Linked DNA regions of Homo sapiens: regions 1 and 3 are each linked to region 2. The links are contacts of gene promoters, found by promoter capture Hi-C in blood cells and fetal thymus (Javierre and others, 2016). All regions are on one chromosome and are shown on one strand. The core of a region is centred on a gene start or on the middle of the fragment in contact, and the rest is flanking DNA. Distances in the headings are between cores, read along the strand shown. Region 1 has its middle 370 kb from the start of SEMA3C. Region 2 holds the start of SEMA3C (semaphorin 3C). Region 3 has its middle 340 kb from the start of SEMA3C.

Region 1 (3,179 bases), core at 239-2,738, 370 kb before region 2:
AAAATGGCTACTCCCAAGGAGCAGAATCAGAGCTGAACATGAGACATATCCCATTCCCAGGATGGCAAGCTATTTAAGTATCTGCCCAAGAAGATCTCAGAAGTTTGAAGGACCACTATCTGCTGTTTTGCTCTGATTCTTTCAATTGCCAGTAGGAGTATTTGTTGCATTTCCCTGCGCTGTTTCACCATTGTATGTCAGGTATGCTGAAGGTAGGACTGTTAAAGTCAGGCATTAATTTGCCTCCCTACTGAAAACACAATGATTTGCATATTAAGGATGGTCATAACAGACATTAAAGACCAAAAGTCTTCAAGGCAATACTGTCCATAGATATGTAGTACTCAAGTGACTGAAGCTACCTCTGGTGACCAGTGGGAACTTGCCATTGGTATAGTTGACTTGGTATTGCTACATGCTCTGTGGGGATGATCCCTATCATGGACATTGTCCAGTTAGAAGATGTGGTATAAAATTTGTCCCTGATTTTAGCTGATGTGATTAATGGTATCAACTCCAACATGAAAGACATTCAAATCAGTCTCAACTCATTGGACAAGGCTGTTTTTGGTGACAGAACTAGCTAGACTTCTTTGTGGACCAAGGTAGTATTTGTTCAATCATTAACACATCCTGCTATATCTGGATTAACGTCTTAGGCCAAGTAGAAAGGTCAGTACAGAAAATTAAGCAGAAAGCCATCTAGCTTTCTAAGATAGACATTGAGCATTTATGGCCTTTGTTCAGCTGATTGGGTCAGACATTGTCTCTGGGGAACATGATTGAGGTCAACACTGAAGTTTGGTCTCATACTGCTGCTTAGAGTCATGTTAGTGGATGCTTTAGTTAAATGCTGCATAAAACAGATTACAGAGATTTTATCCCAACTCACTGTTAATCAGATTAATTATTATGGTCAAACTTAGTTTACCTTTTAGATATGTTTCTTATAAGCAACATATAGTATTATTTTTTGGTTCTATTTAACTATAGCCTATAATATTTGCTATAGGAGTCAGTTAATTGATGTCATTGTATATTTATTTGGATTTATTCATAAAGTACTATATTTATAAATATTTATTTATAAAATATTCATCCCCCTTTTTATTCCTTTTTAAATTGTTCTTTACTTTTTTATGACTAAACGTTGCTTTCTCGTGGTACAGTTTCCTTTTCTAGTATTTGTAGTACCTGTTATATTTCTATCCTCTTCTTGGTTATTCTAAAAAATTTAACATACATACTCTGTTCATCAATATTCAAAAATAACCAACAATTTCATCCTTAATCACATCACTATGAGAACATTAAAACACTTTAAGCTGTGTTCATTCTATTCTAAATCACATCCTATTTTTAGTTATTTATTGCATTATATTATAGAATTTTAACTGTTTTATACATAAAATGTGTATTAGTATGTATCCCTATGTATACCAATTTCCATGCTCATTGTTTAGCATTGTTCCTTGTACCTCATATCTCCTAATGGGATCCATTTCCCCCCCCCCCTTAATTATAGCTTTGGTATTTCCGTTATTCAGGGTCTGTTGGTGGCAATCCTCTCTGTTGTTTAGAGTTTAATTGAAATTTTTCTTCTGAAATTAAAATTGTTTTTTCTTGTTCTGAGAAGTAAATTTTACAGTGTATTTAATGCTAGAGAATGGATATTTTATCTCATTACTTGGGGGTATTTTCATACTCCTTCTACCTTCCGTCGTTTTTAAGTAGTCAACAATTGTCATTCATTTCCTTTTAGGTAGTAAATTTTTTCTTTGGTGGCTTAAGATTTTAAGATACCTTTTCCTTGATATTTGGTACAAACATTATGGTTTTTTTTCTGTGGTTGGTTGTGTATGTCTGTATAATTATGCTGCTTGGGTGTTATTTGATTTCCTATAACGCAATATTAGAATTTTCTCATTAATTCCTTGAAAATTATCAACCAGTAGCTATTTAAATATTGCCTCCTCAATATTTCACCTTTCCAGTGATTAGATATTAAAATTGTTTATTCTCCATGTAGCTTAATTCCTCTTTCATATTATCTATGGCAGGCAGAATTCTATGACAGCTCCCAGATCCTCGTCCCCAGAGATTATACACCTCCTGTGTAATCCCATGGGATAATCACCCTTATGATTAGGTTATATGACACCATTGACTTTAGAAAGAGAAATTAACTTTGGAGAAATTGACTTAATTCTGAAAAAGAAATGGTTTCTTCCTGAAAAATAAGTAAGAAGCATAAAAGAGATCAAACATGAGGGAGACTCTGTTGCTGGCTTTGAAAACGGAGGCTGTCACAAGATGCAGATGGCTCTTAGGACCTGAGAGAAAACCAAACTTTGTCTAATCTGCTTCTAATAATAAATGTTGAATTCTTAATATTAATAATTATAGTTTTTACTCTAAAAGTTGTATATATACACAAGTGTGTATGTATATATACACAAGTGTGTATACACAAGTATATTTACATATATACATAAATGTATATACATATATACACAAATGTATATACATATATACACACATATAGTTCCATTTATATGGTCTATTACATTTTAATGATATTTTCAATTCATTTAAAACATTATTTTTAAACATAGACCTTCATTTATGAAAATGTCGAGGCCTGAATTGAAGGTTGGATCTTCCAAAGATGTGTTTTTTCTGCCTAATATTAATATGGTTTGGCTCTGTTTCCTCCACCCGAATCTCATGTTGAATTGCAATCTTCATTGTTGGAAGAAGGCCTGGTGGGAGGACACTGGATCATGGAGGTGGATTTCTCCCTTGCTGTTCTCATGATAGTCAATGAATTCTCATGAGATTTGGTTGTTTGAAAGTGTGTAGCACTTCTCCTTTTGCTCCCTTTCTTCCTCCTGCCCTCACCATGAAGAGGTGCTTGATTCCTCTTCGCCTTCTGCCGTGATTGTAAGTTTTCCGAGGCTTCCACAGAAGCAGAACCCTCTACAGCCTGCAGAACTAAGAGTCAGTTATAACTGTTTCCTTCATAAATTACGCAGTCTCAGGTAGTTCTTTACAGCAGTGGGAGAACAGACTGAGAACACCAGTATCTAGGGGAATTATCAGAATGAATATGGTTTAAACAATCATTGGTTGGAATATTTTAGGGCCACCTAGGTGCTGTCAATCCTGACTGAAATCCT
Region 2 (3,485 bases), core at 738-3,237:
CTCAAACTTAAAATGTATAAACGAATTCCATCTTACGTGAATTTGCTGATCAATTTCTAACAGCTCCACATTTCTAAATTAATTTAATCCACACACTCATCTTTCTAATGATTTATTCTTCTCCCTGCTTAATATATAAATGCCGAATGAGATATCAGAAGGAGGATAATAGTGGAGAGTATATAACCTGGATCTTACTCAGTTTCAGAAGTATTTCAGAGAAGCACGCACAGTGCTTATTCACATTGACATCTGGATTTTAATATTGTCAGTTTTTGGGGGGTTAAATTCCTTATTACAAATTTATGTCAAGGATCTTCTCACGCATCATCACAAAAAATAATTTTAACTGTTGTTACTATATTAATTTTTTGACGTTTGGAGATAATATTAGCCCTGGAATAGTATTTTTGAACTCATAAATTTGCATTATTTGACTTGATCCTTCGTTCCTTGACTATGCAGCGTGAGTCTGAGACACGTGTATGTTTACTGAACACAAGAGGTGGGCCCCAGACACATGAAAGATGTGTCTCACTCACCTCTTCCTCCTACCTGAGATTTCATTCAACTTTCCCACTGAACAATGATTTTGCACCCCCAGAGGGGTTTTCTATGATACAGTTTATAAGAATTTAATGATTGTTTCATTATGTGAATTGTCAGGTATAAGGTGGAGATATTACACTCCACGTTCCTTCTGTAGAGTGACATCTGCTGGGCTGTGCCCCACAGTGATTTTAAGCAAGTGCCTGCTTGTTTTATGGGGATCAAAGCTCATTTCTCCCGATGTTTAAACATCTAGTTTATTGTGGTCCGGAGAAGTAATTTTCACTTAAACATCAAAGTCAGTTCCAGAGTTTAACGAGTGTACCTGAAAGTAATGCTGGAAAAATACCTCTGATGTATTTCTGTAGATGTGTGGTTATGGCAATCTGTTGGCATAACTCAGAACAGCCTCTCCACATAGAATTGTCAAATAATTTCTTCGTGTAATTATGTTTGGGAGTATGGTTGGGGACAACGTACTGGATATGAGTCAACGTGGAGGGGTCAACAGAATTACTGCTTTCAGGGCATTAAGGAAACTCAATAGGAAACAATACCCATTAAAAGGATACACTTGTGCAACAAGATTGTCGTTTATCTTGACCTGTTTTAGAAAACACGCAACAGAGGCCCGGCGCGGTGGCTCTCGGCACTTTGGGCGGCTGAGGCGGGCGGACCATTAGGTCAAGAGATCCAGACCATCCTGGCCCTGTCTCTACTAAAAATACAAAAATTAGCTGGGCGTGGTGGTGGGAGCCTGTAGTCCCAGCTATTCAGGAGGCTGAGGCAGGAGAATCGCTTGAACCCGGGAGGCGGAGGTTGCAGTGAGCCATGATCACACCACTGCACTGCACTCCAGCCTGGCGACAGAGTGAGATTCCCTCTCCAAAAACAAAACAAAAAACAAAAAACAAAAAACAAAAAAAAAACGCAGCAGAATAAGGACAAAACTCACGTCCTTTTAAAAACGCATCTCTTTGCCTTAAAAGGCTGCAGTGATCCTTCCCTGGCAAAAATAAAAAACCACAACTGCTTTGCACTTTGATATTTACGGCCAGGCAAAGCCTGTGTAAGTCTTCGAGAGCCGCCGGCAACAAAAACCGTGGAGCGCACCCAGCAAGTTGCTCACTCCGCCGCGGACTGCGAAAGGAGCAGGGTTGCGGAGCTAGGGCTCCAGCCTGCGGCCGCGCATTCTTGCGTCTGGCCAGCCGCGAGCTCTAAGGGTCGGCCCCGCCCGGTCCGCCCCCGCGGCTCCCTGCCAGGCTCTCGCGGGCGCGCTCGGGGTGGGGCCTCGCGGCTGGCGGAGATGCGGCCGGGGCTGCGCGGTGGTGATGCGAGCCTGCAGGGCGGCGCGCCGGGGCAGCCGGAGCCGCGCGCCGCGGCGCTGTAATCGGACACCAAGAGCGCTCGCCCCCGGCCTCCGGCCACTTTCCATTCACTCCGAGGTGCTTGATTGAGCGACGCGGAGAAGAGCTCCGGGTGCCGCGGCACTGCAGCGCTGAGATTCCTTTACAAAGAAACTCAGAGGACCGGGAAGAAAGAATTTCACCTTTGCGACGTGCTAGAAAATAAGGTCGTCTGGGAAAAGGACTGGAGACACAAGCGCATCCAACCCCGGTAGCAAACTGATGACTTTTCCGTGCTGATTTCTTTCAACCTCGGTAAGCTAAATTGGTCATTTTCCGCATTACAGATTTAGCAAAGTATAACTTTTTTGGCCTGTATATTGATTTTTCATACATTGGTATGCTCAAGCCTGGACATTTTCTTAAGAACACACGCGGTTTGTCAGGGAAGCTTTCCCCTTGCTGAGAGCCCTGCTCGAGTTGTTTCTTTAGGCGGTGACACCTGCGGAGAGTTTCAAGTTGAGTATTACAGTGCCTTCAAAGGCAAAATTGCTCCAGAGGAGATAAGAGAATTCTTTTCTTAATGTGTTGTTAGTTTGCGATCAGCAGAAGTGAAAACACCAAGAGGAACGTCTGTGTCTGAGTTAAAGGGAAGAAGTTGTAAGATACTGTTGGGGAGGCGGGGGTGTATTTAAGACACTTGGCTTTCAGTCTTTCACTCCTCATCACTAGGTGGGATGTAAATCAAATTGCCCTGTAGACTATCTTCGTTTCACCTGCCATTGTATCACCAGTATTCTTTGCAATTGGTTGTATATGTACTTTTGGGAGAAACATATAAGGTAAGATACCAATATGTAAAAAAAATGTGTAAATAATATCAACTTGCTCAGTAAACATAACAAAGGTTAGGCATATTAATAGTTTTTTTCTTTTGGCTTTAACTATGAAGTCAACAGAACCAAGGGGTAAATTACTGAGGGAAAGTCACCCATAAAATCAGTTTCTTTCTAAGTTAATTTAGGGATGACAGGGTGAAGAGGTTGTGGAAGCAGGAAGAAACTGTTTCTTTTGAAAATTACCAACACAAACATCTCTAGAGTTTCCTCCATCTGTGTGGTAAAAGAAGCGTACAATTTCATTTCTAACTCTCATAACATATGCACCACCTAGGAAATCTACTTACAATTTTTGTTTAAAATTGCATATTCCATTTAATTCTTTTTATTCTGTATTAATGAAGCTGTCTTTTTCAGTTGTTAGTGGTTCTTACAAAGAATTTAATAATTTTGACTATGAAATTTTAATTTGAAAAGCCAAATAATGAAGATCAGCATTGTTGTAACCTGTAAAAATAAATTTCTTTACTGGACTCTTGGGTCACTTTATTGTGTAATTATGGTAGAAGCAAAATGATTGTGTTTCTTTAATGGTCCTGAGTTTATTTTACATGATGTAGCCACTAGAGCTCCTGTAGGTTTATGGTAACACATTATCTGGTCTTCCTTGGGATTCAGATATTAGTTAATAGCATGTACCAATTTTATATCTATAGTTTGAAGCAGTGACACCTGTCTCTTTGATTTATCT
Region 3 (3,168 bases), core at 608-3,107, 340 kb before region 2:
AAACATAGTAACTGTTGCCAAAGGAGGCACCTGTGTCCTTTTAGGAGCACAATGTTGTACCTTTATCCCTGACAATCAGAACATAACAGCAGCCCTGCAAGGTGTACCTTTATCCCTGACAATCAGAACATAACAGCAGCCCTGCAAGGAGATAAAGGGAGATAAGGGCAGTTGAGAGCCTTACTGATGATCCCCTGCAGAGATGGTGGGCATCCCTGAGATCTGGCCTATGCTCGACCCTAGTAGTCATAAGTAGCATACCTGGGATCCAGGTAGTGAGCTGTTGCTCTCTGTATTGTTCTTGTTGGTTATGGATTCAGGACTCCACCCTATGGGCACATGTCCCTACCCAGAAGACACCCTTGGCCTAGGGGATGGAGTATAAGGGAGATGGCTACACTTTAGTCAGGAGTAAGCTGAGGCAGCCTTCTGGGGAAGCATGACTCAGCAAGTTTGGAGCACAGGTGCCAACCTTACACATTATGTAACCATGCCACATGAGGCACATTAGGTAACCACTCATGGGAGCTCATGGTTGGCTCAGAGCCACTATTGTCTGTAAAAGGTATAATTACCCTGCTAATGCTGTACATACAGCTTGTGACCAGAGAGAGAATAAAGCCATGTTGCAACTACCTATGATTCCTCCAGTGTTTATCCAGCTACCCACCACCAACCCACTGACTCCCCTCAGACCTCGGCTTGGGCTCAAACCTGAAAACACGGTTAACAGAGAACTTCACATTAAGACCTATTTACCTCACTTCCTTTTGCTCAATACAACATTGAAAAAAATATATAAAAGGAAATTGCCAGGCACACTAGAAGACAAGAACAAAAACCTATAATTTCAAGAGACAAAGCAAATATAAGAAACATATATGACACAAATTTTGGAATTATAGCACAGCAGATTTAAAATAACTGCAATAGCACAAATTATTATCAGAAATGAAAGAGCAGACATCACTACAGATCCCATGGACATTAAAATATAATACAAAAATACTATGAACAACACTGTGTCCACAAATTTGATACTCTAGATAGTATTGACCAATTATTTGAAGGACACAATCTGCCAAAACTCATACAATGGGAGATAGACAGTTTGAATAACATGTATTTATTAAAGAAATTGAAGAAATAATTAATTACCTTCCGAAAACAAAAACACTAGACCCAGATGGAAGCAGTGGTGACTTCTACAAGATGTTTAAGGAAGAAATTATACCAACTCTTATAATCTTTTTCAGAAGATACTGGAAGAGAGAATACTTTTTAACTCATTCAGTGAGGACTATATTACTTTAATACCAAAACCAAAGACATTACAAGAAAACAATACACCATTATTTTCATGAACAGAGATGCAAAAATCCTCAACAAAATATCAGATACCAAGACTGTATAAAAAGTCCAAGACTGTATAAAAAATTATACATCTTGACCCAGGTATGCAAGGCTGGTTCAACATTTAATAATTAGTTAATAAAATTTAGCACATCTACAGGGTAGAAAAAACTCACAAGATTATATGAATAGATGCAAAAAAGCAACTGACCAAATCCAACACCCACTCGTGATATTTCTCAGCAAAGTAGGAATACAGCAGGTTATTTTCTCAACATAATTTAAAAAATCTAGGAAAAAAAATCCTGACAACTAACATTGTACTTAATGATGAGAAACTAGGAGCTTTACTGATAACATTAGGAATAAGATGAAGATGTACCCTCTCACCCCTCCTTTCCAACATTGTACAGGAAGGCATAGCTAATTCAATAATACAAGAAAATAAAATGAAAGGTATACTGATTAAGATGGAAGAAAAAAACTGTTTTTGTTCACAGATCACATGTTCATCAACATGTACAATTCCAAAGAATCAATAAAAAATTGCAAATAACCTAATTTGCAGGATACTAAATTAAATATAAATATCAAACACTTTTCTATATACCAATAATTTGTTAAATTTTAAGTGTTATGATACCACCTCTTATATTAGAACCCCCCAAAATAAAACATATATGTATAAGTCTAACAAATATACAGAAGATCTACATGAAGAAAAGTACAAAAACTCTGATGACTGAAATCAAAGAGAACTAAATAAATGAAGAGAGATTTCATTTTTATAGATAGGAAGACTCAATATAGCCAAGATATCTGTTTTTCCTGACTTGATTTATAGATACAACATAATCCCAGTCAAAATCCAAGCAAGGTATTCTATGGATAACAACAAAATGATTTTCAATTCATATAGGAATGCAAAAGAAACCACAATAGACAACACAATATTGAAGAAGAAGAGTAAAATTGGGGGACTGCTTCCACCTGTCTTTAAGGCTTACTATAAAAACTACAATATCAAGACAGTGTGAAATTGGCAAAATAACAGACAAATCGATCAATGGAACAAAATAGAGAGCCCAGAAAAAGACAAACATAATGTAGTCAACTGACCTTTGACAAAGTAGCAAAAGCAATATAATGGAGAAAATGTAGTCTTTTCAGAAATATTGCTGGAACAATCAAACATCTACATGTGAAAAAATTAATCTAGACAAAGATTTTACAGGCTTAAAAAATTTACTCAAAATGAATCATAGCCCTAAATGAAAAAGGCAAACCTATCACACCTAGAAGATAACAGTGAAGAAAACCTTGATGACTTTGAGTATGGCAATGACCTTTCAGATTTGACACCAAAGGTACAATCCATTAAAGAAAAAATTAATTAGTGAGACTCTCTTAAAATTCAAGATTTCTGCTGTACAAAAATGTTGCCCAAAGAATGAGAAGATGAACCACAAAATGGAAGAAAATATTGCAAAAGACTTATCTGATAAAGGAGTGTTATCAAAAATATAAAGAACTTTCAAAACTCAAAAATAAGATAACAAATAAAAATGGATGAAAGACTTGAATAGGTGTGTCACCAAAGTAGATATACAGATGGCATATAAGCATATGAAAAGATGCTCAACATGAGATATCCTTAGGGAACTGCAAATTAAATCAGGATAACCCAACACACCTATTAGTATAGCCAAAATCAAAAACACTAACAACATCAAATGCTAGTGAGAATGTGGAATAAAAGGGATTCTCATTGACTGATGGTAGAAATGCAAAATAGTACAGCTACTTTGGAAGAAA

Evidence for each region. Contacts are between HindIII fragments. The CHiCAGO score rates a contact against its expected background, and 5 or more counts as called.
Region 1: a contact is called between a fragment that was not itself captured here and the fragment with the promoter of SEMA3C in region 2, in 1 of 17 cell types (neutrophils). The highest score is 6.2, in neutrophils.
Region 3: a contact is called between a fragment that was not itself captured here and the fragment with the promoter of SEMA3C in region 2, in 1 of 17 cell types (M2 macrophages). The highest score is 6.8, in M2 macrophages.

What each region holds. Positions count from the first base shown.
Region 1 is chr7:81,289,855-81,293,033 of GRCh38, reverse strand. No RefSeq gene overlaps it. Among named protein-coding and RNA genes, the nearest start is that of SEMA3C, 370 kb to the right of the region's middle. The HindIII fragment of the contact is 4,540 bases long and covers 1-3,179 here.
Region 2 is chr7:80,917,553-80,921,037 of GRCh38, reverse strand. SEMA3C (semaphorin 3C) reads left to right here and starts at 1,987. Exons shown (of 18, transcript NM_006379.5): 1 at 1,987-2,210. RefSeq lists a silencer at 1,721-1,850 and an enhancer at 2,398-2,467. The HindIII fragment of the contact is 5,149 bases long and covers 1-2,348 here.
Region 3 is chr7:81,261,623-81,264,790 of GRCh38, reverse strand. No RefSeq gene overlaps it. Among named protein-coding and RNA genes, the nearest start is that of SEMA3C, 340 kb to the right of the region's middle. The HindIII fragment of the contact is 4,916 bases long and covers 1-3,168 here.